Linked DNA regions of Homo sapiens: regions 2, 3, 4, 5, 6 and 7 are each linked to region 1. Evidence: promoter capture Hi-C in 16 types of primary human blood cells and fetal thymus (Javierre and others, 2016). All regions are on one chromosome and are shown on one strand. Each heading gives the region's core, a stretch centred on a gene start or on the middle of the fragment in contact. The rest is flanking DNA. Distances are from core to core; before and after follow the strand shown.

The links. Contacts are between HindIII fragments. The CHiCAGO score rates a contact against its expected background, and 5 or more counts as called.
Region 2: a contact is called between a fragment that was not itself captured here and the fragment with the promoter of BRD7 in region 1, in 1 of 17 cell types (total CD4 T cells). The highest score is 5.9, in total CD4 T cells.
Region 3: a contact is called between a fragment that was not itself captured here and the fragment with the promoter of BRD7 in region 1, in 3 of 17 cell types (non-activated CD4 T cells, activated CD4 T cells and total CD4 T cells). The highest score is 8.3, in non-activated CD4 T cells.
Region 4: a fragment that was not itself captured here is called in contact with the fragment with the promoter of BRD7 in region 1 in 10 of 17 cell types (non-activated CD4 T cells, total CD4 T cells, activated CD4 T cells and 7 more); the score reaches 20.0 in non-activated CD4 T cells.
Region 5: a fragment that was not itself captured here is called in contact with the fragment with the promoter of BRD7 in region 1 in 16 of 17 cell types (total CD4 T cells, non-activated CD4 T cells, total CD8 T cells and 13 more); the score reaches 43.2 in total CD4 T cells.
Region 6: a fragment that was not itself captured here is called in contact with the fragment with the promoter of BRD7 in region 1 in 17 of 17 cell types (non-activated CD4 T cells, naive CD8 T cells, total CD4 T cells and 14 more); the score reaches 40.0 in non-activated CD4 T cells.
Region 7: a contact is called between a fragment that was not itself captured here and the fragment with the promoter of BRD7 in region 1, in 5 of 17 cell types (neutrophils, monocytes, erythroblasts and 2 more). The highest score is 9.8, in neutrophils.

What each region holds. Positions count from the first base shown.
Region 1 is chr16:50,367,308-50,370,700 of GRCh38, reverse strand. BRD7 (bromodomain containing 7) reads left to right here and starts at 1,713. Exons shown (of 17, transcript NM_013263.5): 1 at 1,713-1,975; 2 at 2,403-2,611. The coding sequence starts at 1,927. RefSeq lists silencers at 1,535-1,784, 1,815-2,324. The HindIII fragment of the contact is 8,339 bases long and covers 805-3,393 here.
Region 2 is chr16:50,868,424-50,871,816 of GRCh38, reverse strand. The region is part of intron 1 of LINC02128 (long intergenic non-protein coding RNA 2128); the gene reads right to left. It also overlaps the pseudogene RNA5SP426. Among named protein-coding and RNA genes, the nearest start is that of LINC02128, 30 kb to the right of the region's middle. The HindIII fragment of the contact is 1,347 bases long and covers 1,165-2,511 here.
Region 3 is chr16:50,847,785-50,851,177 of GRCh38, reverse strand. All of the region lies in intron 1 of LINC02128 (long intergenic non-protein coding RNA 2128), which reads right to left. Among named protein-coding and RNA genes, the nearest start is that of LINC02128, 9.4 kb to the right of the region's middle. The HindIII fragment of the contact is 285 bases long and covers 1,769-2,053 here.
Region 4 is chr16:50,830,822-50,834,214 of GRCh38, reverse strand. No RefSeq gene overlaps it. Among named protein-coding and RNA genes, the nearest start is that of LINC02128, 7.5 kb to the left of the region's middle. The HindIII fragment of the contact is 4,131 bases long and covers 1-3,393 here.
Region 5 is chr16:50,810,975-50,814,367 of GRCh38, reverse strand. No RefSeq gene overlaps it. Among named protein-coding and RNA genes, the nearest start is that of LINC02168, 6.0 kb to the right of the region's middle. The HindIII fragment of the contact is 5,044 bases long and covers 1-3,393 here.
Region 6 is chr16:50,780,505-50,783,897 of GRCh38, reverse strand. It overlaps CYLD (CYLD lysine 63 deubiquitinase), which reads right to left. Exons shown (of 19, transcript NM_001378743.1): 10 at 2,487-2,652; 11 at 1,432-1,573. It overlaps CYLD-AS2 (CYLD antisense RNA 2), which reads left to right. Exons shown (of 3, transcript NR_187251.1): 3 at 1-39. Among named protein-coding and RNA genes, the nearest start is that of CYLD-AS2, 21 kb to the left of the region's middle. The HindIII fragment of the contact is 1,122 bases long and covers 1,247-2,368 here.
Region 7 is chr16:49,968,444-49,971,836 of GRCh38, reverse strand. It overlaps the pseudogene NCOA5LP. Among named protein-coding and RNA genes, the nearest start is that of CNEP1R1, 55 kb to the left of the region's middle. The HindIII fragment of the contact is 3,968 bases long and covers 1-3,393 here.

The DNA of each region.
Region 1 (3,393 bases), core at 464-2,963:
CCTCTGAGGGGCATTTGGACAGTAGTAGTCACTGTGCTAGGCACTGTAAGTACCAAGGAGGTACCCAGGGTAATGAGGAGCAGACAGGTAAACCCACAGGTTGAGCCTGGAGCAAGGCAATGCCACAATAGAGGCCAGACCCACAGTGGGAGTTGGCATAGTGGTTCTTAAAGCAAAATAAGTTACAGACAGTGGATGAAAAGCTGAAACCAAGCTTTGCCCTATGCTTAGGGGGCCTAGGGGGCCTAGCTGGCTTGATTTCAGAGCAGCAGAAGGTCTCTTCCCCAACACAACCCCTCTTCCCACACCCTGATCTCTGCCTCACGGACACCAGAGAGGCTTGTTACAGGGAAATAATAGACACACACTTTTAGCTTTCATGAAAAAGCAACTCTCTTCATTAGAAGAACCTCATCTTCCCTGGCTAACCATAGAAGTCTGGCAGGAGCTGCCAATCACAGACTCCACTTCTCTTGGCCAAGGGGGTGAGGGGGTAGATTTGGCATCCAGGCCGAATCAATCTCCCATCCCCTGTCCCATAAAACATGTGACACAAGCCAAGCCAATCAGAGTCCTTCCCTGGGACTGTTTTCCAGGTGAAGCTGACAGGAAGAGATCTTTTTCCCAGTTGGTCAGGACACTATAAAGAAGAGGCCTCAGAAGCAGATGGTGGCCATGTTTCCAGCCATATAGGAAAGAAGGGGGGAGATGGAGACCGATATACAGAGAGACAAGAGAGAGAGCGAGCTGGCATGCCAGTCAACAGCATTACATCCTTGGTTCCTGTCTTCCCTCTGGCAAGCTTTATTCTTGCCCTTTCTAGACATGTAAACCAATAAATCCCTTTTTATTTACTTGAAATAATTCAAATTGGTTTCTATTAGTTGCCAACAATAGGGTCCTAAAATATAAGCCTATAATTTCACCACTGAAGTTCAAGGTAAAGCTACAAATCTTCCTGGGAGAGGTGATTCATGGGTCTAAATTGTTACTAAAGTATAAATGACTGATAACAGATCCTTTCTTAAGAGGAGACTATAATTACGAGCTTATCTGAAAACAGACAAAGCACCATACAGCTAGAAGTAAAGACAGTCAAAACGTCTGGTAACCTTCACCTATCAGCACATAAGTTTTTTTTAAGATTAGAATCTTCAGTCACCAATGTGCTGAGTTTGCTGGGTCTGGCACCCAGTATGGGGTTCAGTCAATATCGTAAAAGGGAAGAAACAGAAGCAAGGGAAAGTGGAAAGAAAGGAAGAGTGGGGGAAGGAGGAAGGGGAAAAAAAGAAAAGAAAAAAAGAGGGAAGGAGACGGGAAGAGGAGAAGGAAGGGTGATGAGGGAGGAAGAAAAGAGAGAAGGAAGGCTTGAAGGGAGGCAGTAAGGAGGGAAGAAAGAAAGGAAGGAAGGAGGAAGGAAGGGAAGAAGGGAAAGAGAAAGAAAGAGAGGGAGGGAGTAAAAAGAAGGGAGGGAAGTGGAGACGGAGGGAGAGACACACAGAGACAGAGACAAGACAGACAAATTGAGGGGAAAGGGAGGAAGGAAGAAAGACGAGAGTCTGAGCGGTGGATCCCGCCCCGGCCCCGCCCTCGGCCCCGCCCCCGGCCCGCGAGCTGCAGCACCACCTCCGGTCGCCAGGGGCCGCCACCCGCAGCCGCCGGCACCCTGTGCGCGCGGCGGGCCTTCTTTCCCGCCTCTGCGCCGGCCGCGCGCCCCCCCCGCCGCCGCTCTCGGGCTCCGGCCGGGTCTCGCGCGCCGTCTTCTCGAGAGGGGCATCGCGCCGCCCGGCGCGCGCCGCCCCCCTGCCTCGCGGCGCGGGGTCTCGCGGGCCCCGCTCCCGCCCTCCGCTCGCCTGGCCCGGACCGGAAGCGGCGCCGCACGGCCTGGGCCTGGCGCGGGGGGCGGGCACCGGGGCCCGGTCGGACATGGGCAAGAAGCACAAGAAGCACAAGTCGGACAAACACCTCTACGAGGGTGAGGAGGGGGCCGGGGTGCGGGCGGCGGGCCCTCGGCGGCTCTGCCGGGCTTCCGCTCTTTCCCAGTGGCTCCGGGGCGGCCCGGGGCCCTTCCTTCCCACGGCAGGCCCAGGCCGGCGAAGGGGGCGCGTCCTGCCGGAGGCCGCGCTGCCCCCCGTGCGGCCGCGGCATTCGAACCCGGGTCCCCCTGGTCCGGTGGGTCTCTGGTGGGGAGACGTGAGGCGGGCCCGGGAGGCCTGGGAGCGTTCGGGGCGGGCGGCGCCGCCGCACCCCCGGGCCGGGGTCCGTCATTCAACAGGTGCTTCGCGGAGCGCCCAAAGCCGCCTCGGGCTTGCTGCGCCTTGGCGCTCTGCATCCTTAGCACTCCCTGGAGAGCCCCGATTTTAATCGACGCGCTTTCCTTTCTTTTCTTTTCTTTTTTTAAGAGTATGTAGAGAAGCCCTTGAAGCTGGTCCTCAAAGTAGGAGGGAACGAAGTCACCGAACTCTCCACGGGCAGCTCGGGGCACGACTCCAGCCTCTTCGAAGACAAAAACGATCATGACAAACACAAGGACAGAAAGCGGAAAAAGAGAAAGAAAGGAGAGAAGCAGATTCCAGGGGAAGAAAAGGGGAGAAAACGGAGAAGAGTTAAGGTACAAGTGGTTACATTGCTTTGGCTTTGCGGACGGCACTGCCTCTTCCAGGTGCCAACCTCATTTTATTTTCTTTGTATCTGGGGAAAACAAACGCCTCTAAGATCTGGCTCGTTTGAGGAGGAGCAGGACAGAATAGAGACATGAATCATCTATGAGTTTCAGCAAGTCGTTTTTGGATTATACTCTTAGGCAATTGTACTCGCACATCAGGTGAGGAAGCAGCTAAGTCCAAATTTTGAGGAGCTGCTTCAAAGAATGGTTTTTCCATCTAGGCAGGGTAAAAAGTCATGCTCAAGAAAGCCTCAGTGTTCAAGGATTGTCAAAAATAGTCATTTCAGAAGCGAGTGGGATCTACTGGGGTTTAAAGTTTGTTCTGAAATAAATATTATAATGCCAAATCTGTAATGAGCAACTTTAAATCTTTTAAAACAGTGTTGTAGTGTGTTGAGAAAATTTGGTCAGAAACCTGTAATGGAGATTGATATTCTTAACCATTTGCATTTAACAGAAAAGAATGAGTAGCTACCATCTTGGTTTGAAAGCTGGGCAAAATAATAATTAATGGCTGGGCCCAGTAGCCCACACTTGTAATCCCAACACTTTGGAATGCCGAGGTGGGAGGATTGCTTGAGGCTGGAAGTTCGAGACCAGCCTGGGCAACATAGCAAGGCCCTGCCTCTGCAAAATAAACTACAAAAATTTCCAGAGCCTGGTGGTGTGCACCTGTGTCCCAGCTATTCAGGAGGCTGAGGTGGGAGGATCCCTTGAGCCCAGGAGTT
Region 2 (3,393 bases), core at 589-3,088, 500 kb before region 1:
ATCTTGTGTTTATAGATTTGAAGAGTTAAAATAGTTAAAATGTCAATATTACCCAAAGTAATCTACAGATTCAATGCAATCCCTATCAAAACCCCAATGGCCTTTTATGCAAAAAACGAAAAACCTGACTTAAAATTCATGTGGAATTGCAAGGAACCCCGAATAACCAGAAAATCCTGAAAAAGAATAATACATTTGTAATATTCATGTTTCCTGTTTTCAAAACTCACCACAAAGTCATAGATCAAAATAGAGTGGTACTGCCATAGGATACATGTATAGGTCAATAGAATAGAATTGAGAATGGTCTATAATCAAAACATGAAAATAAAACCACTACATCTATGGTCAATTGTTTTGACAAGGGTGCCAACCAAGATCATTCGATGGGAAAAAGCATAGAGTTTTCAACAAGTATGCTGAATGACTGCATATCTGCAAGCAAAAGAATTCAGTTGGACCCTTGCTTCACACGTTATACAAAAATTACCTCAAAATAGATCAAAGACCTAAATGTAAAAGCTAAAACAATAATACTCTCAGAAGAAAACGTAAGGCTAAGTCTTCATGACTTTGAATTTGGCAATGGCTTTTTAGATATAATACCGAAAACACAAGCAACAAAAGAAAAAAATGGATAAATTGGAATTAATCAAAATTAGAAACTTTTCTGCATCAAAGAACACTATCAAGAGAGCGATAAAAAATCTTAAAAATTAAAGAAAATATTTGCAAATAATATATCTGCTAAGTATAGTATCTAATATGTATTATCTTATAACTCAACAAGCAAAAGACAATTCAATCAAAATGTGGGAAAAGGACTTGAATAATCATTTTCTTAGGAAGATATAGAAAATCCCAAGAAGCACATGAAATAATGTTCAATGGCATTAATCATAAACAAAATGCAAATCAAAACTACAATGAGTTATCCCTAGGTTGGCTATAATAAAACAAATGGAAAATAACAAGTTTTGGTGAGAATGTGGAGAATGTGAAGCCCTCATGAACTGCTGGTGGAAATGTAAAATGGTGCAGCCACTTTGGAAAGCAGTTTGGCAGTTCTTCAATAAGTTAAGCATCGAATTACCGTCTGACCCAGCCCGTCCACTCCTAGGTGTATACCCAAGAGAATTGGAAATAGGTTTTCAAACAAAAGCTTGTACACAAATGTTCATAGTAGCAATATTCACAATAGACAAAAGGTAAAAATACCCAAATGTTCATCAATTGATGAATAAATAAACAAAATATGGGATATTCATATAATGGGATATTACTCAACCACAAAAGGTAATATAGTCCTGATACAAGTTACAACATTGATACATGTCTTAAACATTATGATGCTAAGTGAGAGAACTAGGCACAAAAGCCATATACTGTATAATTCATTTGTATGAAATATCTAGGATATAAAGACAGATCCATAGGTTCAGAAAACATATTACTGGTTGCTACAGGACAAAAGGCAGAAAAGGATTAGGAGTTGTTATATAGGATTTTCTTTGGGGTTGGTGAAAATGATCTTGAACTAGATCATGGTGATGGTTGCAAAACATTATGCAAATTCTAAATGCCACTGAATTGTACACTTTAAGATAGTTAAAATGGTGAATTTTATGTTATGTTCATTTTACCACAATAAAAAGATAAGATACCACAAAAAATCTAGATGCCAATATTATAATAAAAGAAAATTGCACAATATGTACAATCTCCCTCGTATCCATAAGTTCAAATCATTAACAAAATATTAACAAATAGAATACAGCAATATATAAAAAGGATAATACATTATGTCAACAAAATGAAATGTATTTCTGCATGCAAGATTCATTTTATATTTGAAAGGCAAGCCATGTAATTTACCACATTAACAAAATAGAGGAAAAACTATATGATCATCTTAATAGATTCATAAAAATCATTTAACAAATTTAACACCCACTCAAAAGCTAGCAAGAAACTAGAAATAGAAGAAAACTTTCCTCTACGTAATAAAAGGAAACTAAAAACAAACAAACCTACAATAAGGATCATACTTATGACAAAATATTTAATACTTCCTTGCAGAGATCGAGAACAAGGCAAGTATGTCTCTTCTAAGTATTTCTATTCAGTATGTATTGGGGATTTTTGTCAGTGCAATGGAGGTAAGAAAAAGAATTTATTTAGCAACATCTTTCGTCCTAAAATATCGTGTGTGTGTGTGTGTGTGTGTGTGTGTGTGTGTGTGTGTATTAGCCATATCACCATGAATATGCCCTATCTCATCTGATCTTATGAACCTAAGCAGGGTCAGGCCTGGTTAGTGCTTGGATGGGAGACTTCAAGGGAATACCGGGTGCTGTAGGCTTAAAAAACATTTTTTTTTAAAGAAGAGGAAAACTAATTGAAAGCCATAAATATCAAGAAGAAATAGTTACATTTATTTCTAGATTACATTATTATTATTGACTAAATATTTATGTCTCCTCCTCAGGAGGAGGAGGCTATGTTGAAGCTTCAACCCCCCAATGTGATAGTATTAGGAGGTGAGACTTTTGTGAGGTAATTAGATTTAGATGAGCTCAGGACGGTGAAGCCCTTATGATGGGATTAGTACCCATATAAGTACTGCCACCACTTCTTAGAGGAAGAAATATCAGTGTCCTCTCTCTGCCATGTGAAGCTACAAAGAGAAGGTAGTCATTTGCAAGCCAGAAAGAGGGCCCTCACCAAGAACCAAATCTGGTGATACAGTTACCAGCCTCCAGAACTGAGAAATAAATGTCTAGGTTTTCTTGTTTTTGTTTTTGTTTTTGTTTGACGGAGTCTTGCTCTGTTGCCCAGGCTGGAAGGCAGTGGCACCATCTTGGCTCACTGCAACCTCTGCCTGCCAGGTTCAAGCAATTCTCCCACTCAGCTTCTTGAGTAGCTGGGATTATAGAGGTGCACCACCATGCCTGGCTAATTTTTGCATTTTTAGTAGAGACAGGGTTTCAACATGTTGACCAGGCTAGCCTTGAACTCCTGACCTCAGGTGATCCACTCACCTTGGCCTCCCAAAGTGCTGGCCTTACAGGCCTGAGCCATGGCACCCAGCCAATGTCTGTTGTTTGAGCCACCCAGTTTATGGTATTTTGTTTTGACAGCCTGAGCTGCCTTAGACAATGATTGTTTAGATAGAAAAATCCTAAGCAACCTACCAAAAATACTATTCAAACTAAGAGGTGGATTGAATAAGATTGCAGGAAACAAGGTTAATATACAAAAAACAATTATATTTGTATATAATAGTAAATAAAATACTACTATTGTAAATAAATTTAAAAATTATACCATTGCCATAATATATAAAACATAATAAGGAATAAATGTAACAACATATGAACAAAACTCCACACC
Region 3 (3,393 bases), core at 662-3,161, 480 kb before region 1:
ATCAGGAACCAGACAAGGATTTCTGCTTTCAATACTTCTATTCAACATTGTACTGGAGTTTTTCGCCAGGGCATTAGATGTAAAAGAAATAGAAAACATTCAGAATGGAAATGAAAAAGTAAAGCTACCTCTATGCACAGATGACATGATCTTGTATACAGAAAATCCTAAGGAATTCACTAAAAAGCTATTAAAATGAATAAATGAATTCAGCAAGTTGCAGGACATAAGATCAATACATAAAAATCAATTTGTGTTGCACTTGTAAAGAACAATTTAATAAATGACATTTTAAAAACAATTGTATTAACAACAGCACCAAAAAGAATAAAATGCTTCGGAATGAATGTAACAAAAGCAGCACAGGATTTGTACCTGAAAACTACAAAACATTGTTGAAAGAAATTAAAGGAGATCTAAATAATTTGGAAAACATCCCATGTTCATGATCAGAAGACTTAACACTATTTAGATGATGATACTCCCCAAACTGATCTACAGATTCAACACAGTCCCCTTCAGAATCCCGGAAAACTTCTTTATAGAAATTGACAAGGGGATTCTAAACTTCATATAGAATTTCAAAGGACCACAGACAGCTGAAACAATCTTGGAAAAGAAGAAAGAAGGTAGACTCACACTTCCTGACTTCAAAACTTATTACAAGCAACAGTAATCAAGGACAGTGTGGTCCTGGTATAAGGACAGACATATAGATCAATGGAAGAGAATTGAGAATCTATAAGTAAACTTATACATCTATGGTCAACTGATTTTTAATAAGGGTGCCAATACCATCCAATGGGGAAAGAACAGTCTTTTCAATAAATGGTACCGGGACAACTAGATATCTACATAAAAAAGAGGGAAGTCGGACACTTACCTCACACTATATATAAAAATTTAGGCCGGGTGCAGTGGCTCACACCTGTAATCCCAGCACTTTGGGAGGCCGGGGCAGGCAGATCACCTGAGGTCAGGAGTTCGAGATCAGCCTGGCCGACATAGTTAAGCCCTATCTCTACTAAAAATACAAAAAAATCAGCTGGGCATGGTGGTGGGCACCTGTAATCCCAGATACTCGGGAGGCTGAGGCAGGAGAATCGCTGGAACCCAGGAGGCAGAGGTTGCAGTGAGCCAAGATAGTGCCACTGCATTCCAGCCTCAGTGACAGAGCGAGACTCCGTCCCCCTCCCAAAAAAAATTAACTGAAAATGGATCAAAGACCTCAATGTAAGAGCTAAAACTATAAAACTCTAAGAAGAAAACATAGGAGTAAATATTCATGACCTTGGATTTGGCAACGCCTGACCCTTCTCACTGTCAAGGAAGGCCCTGTAATAACTGTGCCCTGGCACAGTACATGACACATGGTGAGAACTGAAAGGAGATAATGTTGGTTTTCCCAACATTTGTTGGGCTAAATACATTTGTTGAATGAATTAATGAATGACTTCTCTACCCAACCCCAAGTGGAACTGAAGCCAAGCCATGCACACGCATGTGCACGCATGCACACACACACACACAATCTGTGCTATGTGCTGAACAAGGCCCTACTGAAATCCCTTTCTGTCTTCATCCTCCCTCCCCACTCCCTTCCATAGACTCCACCTGACAAGACCCAGTGCAGATGCCTGCTCTTCCTGGAAGTCTTCTCCTATCAGTCGCTGATTCACTCAACAATCAATCACTGGGCATCTGCTCTAAGCCAGGCCCTGAGCTGGGTCCTGGCAACACACAGCAGGACAGATGTGGGCCCTAAGCTTACGGCACTCACAGTTGCACAGGGGCCATGGACAGGAGCTTTGACCTTTCCTCCCAGACACATGCTCTGCTCTGAACTTTCAGGGAGGCACCACACACCACCTCCTACTGGAGCGATCAATGAAGTGGCTGATTTGCCATTTGAGTGAGGTACAAAGAGGCCTCCTGTGCCACCCAGTTTGGAGGGAGCAGAGTGGACCTCCCACCAACTCCAGGACTCCACCTGTCTTGGTTGTTCAATACTCATTTACCTATACAGGACCATTCTCGTGAAAAGTTGAAAGCTTGTTTCTCCATGACAAAAAGTCCCAAGAAAGAATGCCAACTGCTAATGCTGTTGGTAGGAACAAAGAGAATACAAGAAGGAATACAAAGAGAAGCAGTTTAAGAAAGTAAACAATGGGATAAATTAAAAGCTACAACCGATGTTAACCTGGGCTTGAGCAATGTTATGTCCACATCGCTTGAAATGGAAACAGGGAAAAGCAAATCATGAGACTGTTTCAGAAAGGGCTCCAAATATGAGCAGATAACTCATCAAATAAAAAGGAAAACTTTAGGCAAAGTTTAAAAGTGACAGAGCTTATTTTAATAACAAGATTAAATCTTTTAGTGATGGAAGCAGCACTTAGACGACCCCCTAATATTTTTCTCCTTGAGCATGGGAGATGGGGGAAGGAGACATGATACACTAGAATGTTGTATTCAAAGTGGGAGTTCTGAGAGTGTCTTGAGATCCATCCTTCCTGAAGAGGTATGGGGTCAGTGAAAACACCTGATGAACAGATATTCACAGCAGTGTTGGCTGAAGCAGCAAAGAATTGGAAAACATTCAAATGTCCAAAAAGTCAGAGCCCCTCTAAGCCATCAGGGGTGCATCTACCCCATGGAATATACGCAGCCTCTAAAATAAAGGTCTTACGTATTTGATAGAAATGTGTCCTCTTGAAAGTATTATTTTTAGAGATGGGGTCTCACTGTGTTGCCCAGACTGGTCTCAAACTCCTAGGCTCGAGTGATTCCCCCACCTCAGCCTCCCAAAGTGCTGGGATTATAGGCGTGAGCCATCATGCCTGGCCCTGGTAGTATTTGAAGTGGAGAAAAAGACAGGATACAAAATGCCGTCTGGCTGAAAATGCAACTGCAAAACATACATTCGGGAAGACAGACACAAAAGCATGGGACAAGGCCTTAATTTTAGGGGAATTGCAAATGACTTTTTTTTTGCCTTTTATTTTTATGGCTGTTGCTATGATATTGTTTGCACAATTAAAAATGCTGAAATCAAAGCCAAGCCATTTAAGAAGTTATAACTCAGATTTCTCCAGTGACATTTAAACAATCACTTACTGAGCATGGACCATCAAGTCTGTGACTGGCCCTATGATGGGGTTTTAGGATTCCAGAGACAAAAAGAGGCTGAGCACAGTGGCTCATGCCTGTATCCCAACACTATGGAAGGCCAAGGCAGAAGGATTGCTTGAGTCCAGGAGTTCAAGACCAGCCTGGGAAGCATAGTGAGATCCTGTCTCAAAAACAACAACGACAACCAAAAAAAAAAAAAAAAAACCAGCCAGGCGTGGTGGTGCACACCTCCTATAGAACCAGCTACTCAGGAGGCTGAGG
Region 4 (3,393 bases), core at 226-2,725, 460 kb before region 1:
CATATTTAAAAGACAAAATGAATCTATAACCACATGTGGAAAAACAAGAACTTGTCTGCAATTCCTGGAAGATGGAAAGCAGATGGGACTGGGTTGGCAGGATTGGCGGAAACCACAGCCAACCACTATGGCCAGAGCTACTGAGGAAGTAAGAGAAGATCCAGGGTACTTGGGTTCAGAGTAAACAAATACAAAGAGGAGGGGGTGGAGCGATTGGCAGAGAAATTAGCAAAATAACTGTGTTCAGAATTGGTTTTCATTGGAACCAATGGAGCCGACACCCACCCCCATACCCAAACAGGAGACTGCAGCAGCATTTAGCTCCAGGTCCAGGTCAAAACTGAAGGATTGCACAGTAAAAAAAGGGAACCCGCATCTGCAATCAGTTTTATCCACTGATTTGCCACAGTGAGGTACAGGCACCTTCATTCAGGAGCAAGAAACATTTCTTTTTCTCCACGCATAAACAATCCTGTTATGATGTAAGTACAATCCCAGAAACCCTCTAGTCTCATTCACAATGAAAACAAAAAATATATATAAAATACCTAGGAATAAACCTACCAAGAAACGTTCAGGACCTATGTGAAGAAAACTATAAAAATTTACTGTGGGACATAAAAGAAGACCTGAATAAATGGAAAGGCATAACCAAACACCTGGATGGAAACACTCAATATTGTAAAAATGTCAAATCCCCTCAAATTAAACTATAAATTCAATACCATCCCAACCACTATCCCTACAGGATTTTTTATGAAACTGGGCAAGTCGACACTAAAATTCATTTGAAAAAGAAAATTCAAGAGAATAGACAAGAAAAATTTGAAAAAGAAAAACAAGTGTTTGCATATTCTACCAAATTTTAAAAGAGACCATTAAGTGGATACAAGAACATGAAGCTGATAAGACCAGGCAAAGAAATCAAAGAAGCAGAATAGAAAGTCTAGAATGGAAGGCTATTTATAGGAAAAATCAAGAAAATTATGGTGTTTCCGATACATGAGATTGTGACATCTGGAGTTCCATTGGAAAACAGAAAGAAAACGTTGGATCCCTACCTCACATCATATATAAAAGTAAGTTCCTACTGGATTAAGAAGCTAAATGTAAAAGACAAATCCAGAAAAGTATTAGAACACAACACCACATGTGCATTTGAATGATGTGATTTTGAAACTACGTAATATAAAAATAATAATGTCCTCATGTTACATACAAAATGTGAAATCCTCCCAAATGGGGGGATTGACAACTCATCAAGAATTGCATAACTTGGCAACTCATCAAGAATTCCATAACTTTCAAACTGGTAGGCTGGTGAGTTGAAACTGCATTTCCAAGTGCAACATGGCAATGCCTCTAGCTGGTGAAAAGAAGGACGTGCTGTCCTTTGTCATTATTGTGTGACCCATGCTATTGTTCCCCTATCACAACTTCCAACAGTATCTTTGGTGACTAGTGCATATTATCTTTAACATTAACTGATCTTGTGATTCAAAATATTTTGTAATCTTCTAGGAACATTATCCAAGCATTGATTCAAGGGTCGTGGTTGTGCTAGAGTTTGTGCTAAGAAAAGGAATAAAATAGGCCAGGCGCAGTGGCTCCCAGCACTTTGGGATGCCGAGGTGGGTGGATCACAAGGTCAGGAGATGGAGACCATCCTGGCTAACACAGTGGAACCCTGTCTCTACTAAAAGTACAAAAAATTAGCCAGGTGTGGTGGCACACACCTGTAATCTCAGCTATTCGGGAGGCTGAGGTAGGAGAATCGCTTGAACCCAGGAGGCAGAGGTTGCAGTGAGCCAAGATTGTGCCACTGCACTCCAGCCTGGGTGACAGAGAGACACTCCGTCTCAAAAAAAAAAAAAAGAATAAAATAAAATAACCACCTAAAAATCAATAGCTCTGGGCCAGAGAAGGGAAAGGATAAAGTTATTCTGAAGAAGGCCAAACATCACCATGGTGTGTCACTAATTTAGAAGTGCATGCTCTGTAAAAATGTCAGAAACATTGCTGAAAAAAATTACTATCATTATAGGTATGTGGCATTCCAAGAATATAAAATTGCCACTTACCACCTCATGGAGAAAGAACTTGTGAATTATGGAGGCTATGAATTACCTGGGGTCTGTAGGATGCTGTTTTTCCCCTCCCAGATCGCCTTTCTGGACTCCAGTGAGTTTGCACCAGCTGCACCCTTCCCTGGAGAATTGCCTTCAGCTCATGACAGGGACCATGACCTGGAAGTTGGACCCCAACACACAGCAAGGGCAGCCCACAGCTAATGACTGACTGATCAATGTGATTCAGAGCTTCAGGGCTCTTATCACCATGGCTCAGACCAAGACTGGGCTTTGCTTGAGGTTTGCTTCCTTGTTCTGCTCTCTCCCTTGTCTTATTGTGCCTAATTCCCTCCCTTACAGGATTTTCCTGAAAAACTCCCCTGATTAATCATGTGCTCCTTGAATTCCTTTCTCAAGCTCTGCTTTTAGGGAACCCAAGCTAATATATTTGGCACCAGGAGTGATCCTAGGAAATAGATGAGAAGGATAGGATTCTGAAGTCCCTAGATGGCTAGAAATCATAGCCCCATCACCGGTGCTTAGTGTACAGTGGTAAATGGCAGGCAGTGATTGTTGCTAAGATTCTACCTGTAATACACCCAGGGCATGGGATACAGGTGGAAAAGGTGCACTGCCCTGTGCAAGAGCTTTGATGTTTGAGAGGTATGGGAAAAAGAGTTCTTATAAAGACTGTAGAATTGGGTGCCCACCAGTGAATGCCAATCATGCCTTAAGAAGAGGAAAAGACAGACTCAGGGCCATCAATCACAATGTGAAGCAAAACATGAGGGTCTGAGAGCCCCATTGCCAGCATTATAGAAACTCTCATCTCCCACAGCTGGGGAGGCAGACAGCTGGCTCCCAGGCCCTGGCCTTAAGGATATGAGGAAAGGACTTAAGGATAAGAGTTGCAACTTTAAGGAAATTTAAATTCTAATTCTAAGCCTAGGCAAGTTTTCTACACCAAAGTCAGACCTCTGATGGAGAAGCTGCAGGAATCTGGAACTTGGGGTAAGTGCATTTGAGTACATGTACTTGAGAACTTTGGGTCCTCTGGGTCTGCAGAAGCGGCCTGTCCACCCTGTTAGGAGACTATCCAAGAAGCCCCAAATGAGGATTTTTATAAAGCAGCACTGGCCTCCTCCGTATCTGCTGTCACCTCCTCTCCCCGCCACCAGTCTAATCTGTAGGGCCAAGTCTCAGCATGAGTCAACTGTGTGAGGCCTGCTTAGGAATGGGAAAGTTTCTAAGTAAAAGACTCTGCAGGTACTAGTGGACATGCCCTGGCAGGACTGGGAGGGCATGCCCAGGAGTGGATCCTGAG
Region 5 (3,393 bases), core at 482-2,981, 440 kb before region 1:
AGCATCATGGGCTGCTTGACTGAGTATACTTATAGTTATTTCTTGGTCATATGCTAAACAAGGGGTAGATTATTCATGAGTTTTCCAGGAAAGAGGCAGAGATTTCACTGAACCGAGGGTTCCTCCCCTTTTTAGGCCATATGGGTAGCTTCCAGATGTTGCCATGGCATTTGTAAACTGTCATGGCGTTGGTGGGAGTGTCTTTAACATGATGATACTTTGTAATTAGTTCATAATGAGCAGTGAGGACAACCAGAGGTCACTTTTGTCGCCACCTTGGTTTAGGTGGGTTTTGGCCGGCTCCTTTACCACAACCTGTTTTATCTGCAAGGTCTTTGTGACCTGTATTTTGTGCCGACCTCTTAGCTCATCTTGTGACTTAGAATGCCTTAACCTGCTGGGAATGCAGCCCAGTAGGTCTCAGCCTCATTTTACCCAGCCCTTATTCAAGATGGAGCTGCTCTGGCTTAAACGCGTCTGGCACATACAGAGTTAAAAAAAAGAAAAGTTGCCAGATTTGTACAGATCAGGAACTTTTGCTTCTCTTAGAAATTTCTGACTTCGTCTGAAAAATCAGAACATAGGCCAGGTGCGGTGGCTTACGCCTGTAATCCCAGCACTTTGGGAGGCCGAGGCGGGTGGATCACGAGGTCGGGAGTTCAAGACAAGCCTGGCTAAGATGGCGAAACCCTGTCTCTATTAAAAATACAAAAAAATTAGCCAGGCATGGTGGCACTCACTGCTACGCAGGAGGCTGAGGCAGAGAACTGCTTGACCCCGGGAGGTGGAGGTTGCAGTGAGCTGAGATCGCACCACTGCACTCCAGCCTGGGCAGCAGAGCGAGACTCCGTCTCAAAAAAAAAAAAAAAAATCAGAATATACTGGCCTGCTTCTTCCTTTCCTTTACCATATCAGCTCTCCACCAACACTCCAACCTTCTCCCTTCCCTAAGGTACCTGCCTGGCCCCTGTAGGCAAGTGAGCTTGAGAGTCCCAGTCTAGGATCCTTCATTTTACAGATAGAGGGACTGCGGTTCATAGACAGACATCTTGCCAAGGATCATGGAGTGACCAGAGTCCAGTAGCTTGGGTATGACTGGTTTCACAGAGCACCCAGCTCGAACTGGTGGCCCCCAGCGAGGTGGATCGGCCCCTGAGTGGGCACTGTCCCTGCCTGGCTCTAGCCAAGGCCTGGAGGGAAGAGACTGCCCATAGTGAACCAAAGCTCAAGGCTCAAGGGCTCCTAGACAGTGGGGATGAAAATGAGCCAACACCATGCACTGGACGTTTGCCATTGAAAGCAACAGGCTGAACTGGGTAATTCTAGATGATCCAGATGTGGGTGAAGGAAATTCTTCTGTGGCATGCCAAGGAGAAAGGGACTGGAAAAGTCTTCCCGCCCAAAATAGCATGGTGCAAAAAGCACCCAGCTTGGAAATGCCCATGTGAAATGGCCGGTGGCCGCGCAGCTTCCTGAGAATCATTCAGTCTCCCGACAAATATGGGAGGAGGCCACAGTTGGTGCCCCCTGTTCTGGTTGCTGATGAGACAGGGACAATGTGGTTTTCACCCTCTGGGGGACCCACTGCCGAGCTGACAGATGAGTATAAAGCATTGCGCAAATGCAAGGACTCCTGGAGGGGGTGTGGGGACCGTGGGCACCTCGGGCTCACGTAGAAGGAGCTGAGACTTCGTCTCTACTCAGGCAAGTGCCTGGGAATATGGCTTTTGTATAGGGACAGGCTTGACTTCCTCCTGAGTGTGTCCACCTGAGGCAGGAGGTGGCAGGTTGGTGAGGAGGGAGAGGTGGGGATGGTGCAGGCCTAAGGCCTGGAAGAGCACTGGGGAGCCGCTGAGGGACAGGGTGGAATCAGGAGCTAGAGCCCTCTTGGCTGCAGAGTGTACGGCTGAGGCCACCAGCCCTGCCAGACTGTGGAATCCTCACAGTTCAGGAAGCCCAAGGAAGATTGGTGTTTGAGTCACTTAAGGAAGGCCTGGTGTGCATGGCAGGAAGAGGCTCCTCTCCACCCAGGAAAGCCTGCAGAGCTCGGACCAAGCGCCAGCCCCAGGCGCTGGGCCTCCCTAGTCAGAGCCTCGAGCTGCCCTACAATGTCCCAGGGTGAAATGGCCCCCCGTGAACACGGACTTCCCATGCTGGGGTTCTGTTCCAGCTCTGCCTCTAACTCTGCCCGTGGGTGCAGCCCTGCCTCCCTAGGCAGCAGCCTTTAAAGTTGGAGAACTTTAGAAAATTCTCCAACTTTAAAAAGAAAGATTGAGCTGGGACTGGGAGGCTGAGATGGGAGGGTTGCTTGAGCCCAGGTTTTCCAGCCTGGGCAACATAGTGAGACAGACCCTCTTGCTAATGAATTAAAGAAAGAAAAAGAGAGAGAGAGAAAGAGAGGGAGAAGGGGTGGACCCATCTCAATGGCTCCAGTGACTGAGGTCCTTGATGCTAATGGTAGTCCAGACTAGCTTTCTACTTTCTACACTGCTTTCTGGGCTGACTTTCAGTCTTTTTCTCGACCCTGTGCTGAGCCTGGGTTTTATCAAAAAAAGGAGAAAACACACAGGCACATGCACCTTGAGCTGGAGGTGACTACTCCAAGTCACTGAACTTCAACACTACAGAAAGTTTGTCAGATCCCAGAGTGGTGGCTCATGCCTGTAATAGAGCTTCCGGATGCCCAGGCAGGAGGATCACTTGAGGTCAGGAATTCAAGACCAGCCTGGGCAACATAACAAGATCACCTTCTCTACGAAAAATTTTTAAAATTGGCTGGGCATGGTGGTGCATGCCTGTAGTCCCAGATACTTGGGAGGCTGAGGCAGGAGGATCGCTTGAGCCCAGGAGTTCGAGACTAGCTTGGGCAACATAGTGAGATCCTGGTCTCATAAAAAATAAATTCATGAATGTGTCAAAACTCATCTAACTGCTTACTTAAAATATGTGTATGTTACTGTATGTAAATTACACCTCAGTGGAGTTGGTTAAAAAATAATAATGAAAGAAGGAAGGAGTGTAAACTTTGGAAAAGTCTGCAGCTGTCTCTCCTAAAGCTAAAATCCACCAATTCAAGAAGGATCACAGTAGGGTCATGTGTAGTAGCCCCAAACTGTCAGCAATGCCCCTTTCCATCAGTATGAGAACCATAAATAAACGATTGTATATTTACGTAAGAGAGCATCACATAGCTATGAAGTAGAATCACTGACATACACAACAGAGACAGTCTGAAGGATGCACACAGCATGACATCAGACACTACCTGAAGTGTGCACGATCTATGACTCCCTTTACATAAGTTCAAAACCTGGCAACAGGGATCTACAGTGACAGAAGTCAAAATAGTGGTAATCACTGGTGCAGGGAGGTAACTTGACTTGGGGGAGCAGA
Region 6 (3,393 bases), core at 558-3,057, 410 kb before region 1:
AAGATCTATTACATTAATAAATTTCTTTAAATGCTAAAATCACTTATGAGTGACTAACAGGCCAGGTGCGGTGGCTCATGCCTGCAATCCCAGAACTTTGGGAGGCCGAGACGGGTGAATCACCTGAGGTCAGGAGTTTGAGACCAGCCTGACCAATATGGTGAAACCCCGTCTCTACTAAAAATACAAAAATTAGCCAGGCATGATGGAGTGCACCTGAAGTCCCAGCTACTTGGGAGGCTGAGATAGGAGAATCGCTTGAACCCGGGAGGTGGAGGTTCCAGTGAGCCGAGATCACGTCACTGCATTCCAGCCTGGGCGACACAGCGAGACTCCTTCTCAAAAAAATAAACGAGTGACAGCAGTAACTTGCTGTTATCAAAGAAAAAGAAAATTTAGCTAATATAGATTTTTATCAGGAAATCTAAAGAATATTATATCAATGCTACAAGGTTTGTTTTTGTCAAAGTATTCTGCAAATAAAATGGCCGCCACTTTATTCTTCTTCCTACTTTAAAAATGTTAACATCCCATATTAACTTCCTAATTCTTATCATATGGCTACAGAACTGGCAGGCTACTCTCAATTTAGCCCAGTCTACAATCCTCAGAGCCTAAAGATTCTTGGTTCAATTTCCAGAGCTTAAAGATCCTTGCAATGTTAAGGCTGGGCGTGGTGGCTCATGCCCGTAATCCCAAGCACTTTGGGAGGCCAAGGCGGGTAGATCATTTGAGGTGAGACGTTCGAGACCAGCCTGGCCAACGTGGTGAAACCCCCGTCTCTACTGAAAATACAAAAAAGAAAGTTAGCCAGAAGTGGTGGTTCACACCTGTAATCCCAGCTACTCAGGAGGCTGAGTCAAGAGAATCGCTTGAACCTGGGAGGCAGAGGTTGCAATGAGCCCAGATTGTGCCGCTGCATTCCAGCCTGGGGGACAGAGTGAGACTCTGTCTCAAAAAAAAAAAAAAAAAAAAAAAAAATCTTAAGTTGTTCCACTTTGGAAAAAATTGCATATATGAGGGCAGCAGTGCTGCTACTGAAAATCGTTTTTTTAAAGACAGTAGTTTTATGACTGCCTTTACCTACTAAAAGAAATACAGCACATAACAGCCAATGGCTTTACTGCAAGTTATGTTGTTTGAGACATGCACAAAGATTTCCCAGATACCCTCTGTATATCTATTCCATTGTACCAATATCATTCACCTTTCTGGACACAGAAACATGAGACAACATTCAAAAGCTTAAAAGGAGTATGTCATAAAAAGCAAATCTCCCTTTCAATCCTGACCCACAGTCATCCAGTTTCTCTACTCAGAGGCAGATGGCAGTTTCTTTCACACACACTCACACGCACACACACACACACACCGGTATGTGTCCCTGCCTCATGGCACTATCTATACCTATTGCATTCTTTTTAAACTTACCAGAATAAGGTTGAGTCTAAGTAACAAGAATTGTAATGACCCTGGATGCCTTTCTTCTTCCCAATCATTATCTCCAAGCCTTCTTTTTCCATTTTTGGTGGAGTATTTTCTTCTACTACTTCACTTAAGTAGCCTCCAAATGCTGAAAAGATTTTTTTAAAAAAAGTAAATGAAAAGAATTCTTTTAAACTATTACAATATGTATTCCCATAAATATTTTTTCATTTTAAAATGTTTTTGTATTTTGATGCAAAATTTTTTCTTTAAGTGGAAAGTAGGCTTTGGTTAACTGCTATTTGACTTGGCTTATAAAAATTGCTATTGTTCATTTTCAACTTCATTTCCTCCAAGATTTAAAAACACACTTTAGAGTATTATGTGTAAAAAGCATCTGTCAAGTAAAATATGTTTCCCAAATATTTCACTATTTATCTGAAGTTGCTTCACTTTCAAGTTTGAAAAGAAAATGAAAATTCCAAAGTACTATTTCAACATAATAAGAGTGTTTTTCATAAAGATGGCTTTCCTGTTTGCACCTGCTGAAGCCCCAAGATGCTTTTCCACTATTATGTAGAAGTGGAAAGGAACAGCACCAGGAAACTGCCACCAATTACACATGATGAGGAGAGCTGTCCTCCAGCAATCAGTTGAAATCTACTTCTTACACTAAAATGCTGATTTCTTTGTAAGATACACTCACTGCTGTAAACAAGACACTGTGAGGGAAGTCAGTAAAAAAAAAAAAGAAGGTTACATTTCAATTTCTACCACTAGTATTGCTGAAAACTAAATGTCTGTCATCAACAGGAAGAGAAAAACAAACCACACTATTATTCACTTTATAAGTCCCAAACGCACGTCCTAATACTTTTTTAAGATGTCCCCTCTTAAAACAACTTTCTTATACACCATGCAACATTTTTACTGATTTAAAGCTTAATGAGCGTTGGCAAGAAATATATTAAAACACTGTCACCATCACCTAATATAACATGATATGAGATTAGAATTAGAGTCATTCCAGGTTGTTAAGTAAACAAAAAGCATCCAAATACCTAAAGAGTTACAGCGCTCAATCTGATTGGAAACCGGCTGCAATGATGCAAACCTAGAGTCAGGCCTGCAGCTCTTCAGTTTCACAAACAGCGCCTTCTTCAGGGCACAGGTGAAATACCGAGTGCCTCTGAAGGTTCCATCCGTACAGCCTGCACACTCATCTTCCTGAAAAAGAAATGCTTCAATATGCATTATACCGTGCCTTACAGAGATAGTATACAAAGAACTAAGGTTTCTAAGACCTGTTTCTAGTATACCCTTTCTCACCACTCCCTCTTCGCACCTGTACTGAGAACCTCATCAAGAAAAAGGAGTTGAGTAATCAGTGCTTCAGCCCACAGCTACTGATTTAAGAAGTGACTTCCTTAATCCAGCATGAAGTCCTTCTTGTATTTCCTTTCAGAATATATGCTTCAACCTCCCCTGGTTAAACGGGCTTTCCCGCACCATTTCTACAAGCATTAAAACAGGCAGGGAAGGAGAAGGCTATTTATTTTAACCCTCATTCTTGCCTCCCCACCATGCCCCATAAGATAGTATTCACTAGCATGGAAACAAACAAGAAAAAAAAAAAAAGAAATATATTTAAATTGGCCAGGTGTGGTGGCTCATGCCCATAATCCTAGCACTTTAGGAGGCCAAGGCGGGCAGATCACTTGAGTCCAGGAGTTTGAGACCAGCCTGGGCAACATGGCAAAACCCTGTCTCTACTAAAAATACAAAAAATTACCAAGCATGATGGTACATGTCTGTAATTCCAGCTACTCAGGTGACTGAGGCAGGAGAATAGCTTGAGCCCAGGAGGTCGAGGCTGCAGTGAGCCCTGACCGTGCTACTGCACTCCAGTCTGGGTGACAGAGTGAGACCCCATCTCTAAATAAATCCTAAACATACTCAACTTCTCCT
Region 7 (3,393 bases), core at 477-2,976, 400 kb after region 1:
AGACTCTTGAATCCCTTCCTCCACACCCTCACACCTCACCCTCTTGATTTTGCTACCCTCTAACCATTGGTATATGCTCAAGAATGTAAATGTATTCTATTGTGATACAAATCAGAACTCCAGAGCCAAATAAAAATATAAGTCACTTAAAACTGGATTTTTTTTTTTACCCCAGGAATGGATAGATCTATAAGAGCATGTAATAATAAAAAGTGGGTTATCCATAGCAGACCCTTGAACGAAAAGGGTCTTAACAAAAATGAAAAAGGGAAGATCAAAAGCTAGGTGTCTGAGACCAGTCTGGGCAACATAGTGAGACCCTGTCTCTACAAAAAATAAAAAGATAAAATAAAAATCCCTTTTCAGAACTCTCCCACTCTCCCATTTCCCCCCACCCTTTTTTTTTTTAACTGAAATGGCTGGCCCTGGCATATTGTCCTGGACTTGTTTCTTTCACTTAACTGTGTATCATGAAGGAGTCTTCATCCTCATTGTTTGTAACCACTGCGTAGCATTCTCGAGTATGTAAATCACTTTTTTTTCTCTTTTTTAAGTTGAGACGGAGTCTCAGTCTATTGCCCAGGCTGGAATGCAGGGGTGCGATCTCGGCTCACTGCAACTTCCTCCTCCCAGGTTCAAGCTATTCTCCTGCCTCAGACTCTTGAGTAGCTGGGACTACAGGCATGCACCACCACACTTGGCTAATTTTTGTATTTTAGTAGAGACAGGGTTTCACCATATTGGCCAGGCTGGTTTGAATTCCTGACCTCAAGTGATCTGCCTGCCTCGGCCTCCCAGAGTGCTGGGATTATAGGCATGAGCCACCACACCTGGCCTCGAGTATATAAATCACTTTTGAAGGCGACTTTATTTTGTTTACTCTGGCTTTTATATTCAGCAGTGAAGTTCCTCTAAGTAACTACATGGGTAAATCAACATGGCAGTTTAAGATTCTTGCCTTAAATCTTTCTCTGTAGTTTTGGTAAAAACAGTTTTCCTTGAACTGTATTTGAATTGATTTTTATATATATGAACCTTGACAGGGCCTCTCTCTCACTTGCATTAAAGATGAGATTTGTGTCAGATTAGATTAATAATTCAGAATTGAAAAATGCTTTCCTCGACTGCGGAAGCACTTGGAAGTGTAGAATTCAGGAGTGACTGTTCATGGAGGTTAGTTCTTCTCAGTAACATTTCCTGAAGATGAGACCTGGAATACCTGCACTGTTGGGTGGTCTTCTGAAGGAGATCTTCTTAGCCTTGACCTGAAAGAAACCTAAAGGCAGAGATGGATCACAATGGCCAACACTGACTCAGGGCCCACACTGCATCAGGCACCATTCTGAGGATATTGCCTGTATTAGTTCATTCAATCTCATAATAGCACTAAGAGGTAGGGTCGATTAATAATCCCCGTGTTACAGGTGAGGAAATAGTCATGATGATGTCAAGTAACTTAATCAAGGCTACTCAGCTTGTAAGCGACAGAGCTGAGATTCAAACCCAATTGCATTGTCAACATTAGGCTGCCTTCCCTGGATGACCAGGTACTGGCTTCCCAGGCTCCTCACAGTCACCTCTAATTGTTTGGTGGTGGTGGTGTTTACCTACCACTTCATTAAAAGAAAGTGTCTATGGCCAGGTATGGTAGCTCATGCCTGTAATCCTACCACTTTGGAAGACTGAAGTGGGTGGATCACTTGAAGCCAGGAGTTTGAGACCAGCCTGGGCAACTTAGTGAGACCCCATCTCTACAAAAAATAAAAAGATTAGCTAGGTATGGTGGCGTGCACCCATACTCCCACCTGCTTGGGAGGCTAAGGTGGGAGGATCCCTTGAGCCCAGGAGTTCTGGGCTACAGTGAGTCAGGATCGCGCTACTGATCGTGCCCAGGCTGTGGGCAACAGAGCAAGAGCCTGTCTCTAAAAACAACAATGATAACAACAAAAGAAAGTGTAGAAAGTGTGAGGGAAAGCCAGCAAGAACAAAAGGCAGCAAGGGTTAGGAAAAGCAGTTGGCTTACAGAACGGCCTCTAGAATCAATGGCCGGTGTTGGTCAAAGACAAATAGACAAATGAAGCCTGCTCCGGAGAGGGAAGCATTGTGTGCAGCTCAGGATTCTCAGGGCAGTAGCGGGAGGCATGGACTCAGGCAAGAGCTTTGCTTGGAAATGTCTGTTGGGAGGCTGGCTGTGGACAGCAACCCGAATAAACATCGGAAAGGGGGGAAGCACAGGGACGAACGCTCGCAGGCAGCTTGCTGAGTAGTCATGGTTTGCGGAGTGCACTTCGGGGCCGCCTCGCCGTGCAGCCTGACGCCTCTTGCTAGATAACAGCTAATTGCTGCCCGCCAGCGTGGTTCAGTCCCTGTCAGGACATTCCTTGTGGACAGAAACATTGGTGTCTGGATCCTGGGGAGCCACAGTAAAAATGCCTGATTTAGGGTACAGCGTACATCTACTTCTCCCTTTCTTCTGTTAAATCACAGCAAAAGGGACTATTTAGACAGCTGATAGATGACCCAGCATCTGTGCACTATTTTGCATGTCTTTAGCAAGGGAAAATAGCCTGCTCACAGGCGCTGTGGAGCGTTTATAAGTAAAGGGAGCAGATCTTGTTCACTCATTCTTTACTCATATCCATATCCAATGAAGACCTTCCAAGAGGAGCATCCCCAATTTTAAAGATGAACGCTTCTGATAAAATTATCTCAAACCCTTTGGACTAAACACCTTAAAGTGTGAATATATAGCTCTAGCTATCTTTCTATCTAATCTATAACAAAGATCAGTGGCTCCATATAGCACTTTTCATCTCCATGGGCAAGAGGAAACAAATGGAAAGGGCAGAAAATCCTAGAAATTTATAAAACACTAAAATAAGAGCAGAGCAGACTATGGAGCGACATTTACCTGCAGATAGACACAGGCTTTAGTGACTATAGATTGCGCTGGGTGATCTGGTATTTGCTTTTTGGCTTTTGGGGGTACACTTAGAGGGGAAAATACATCCGCAAAATATTTGAAAAAATATTTTCATATTTTTCAGTTATGAAATTATGAATATTTTATGAAATATTGAAAAATAATTTCAATGCATATTTAACAGCATTGAGGGATTACGGGGGAAATGTGGCTGATTCTTCAAAAGGGAATGAAGACAACCGGAGCGGCGACCCTGGTGCTCTCCCTTCAGTAAGAATCCTGTTGGCCAGGCGCCGTGGCTCATGCCTGTAATCCCAGCACTTTGAGAAGCCGAGGCAGGTGGATGAGGACTGAGGCAGGTCAGTAGTTCGAAACCAGCCTGACTAATATGGTGAAACCCCGTCTTTACTAAAAATACAAAAATTAGTTGGGCGTGGTGGTGGGTGCCTGTAATCCCAGCTACTTGGGAG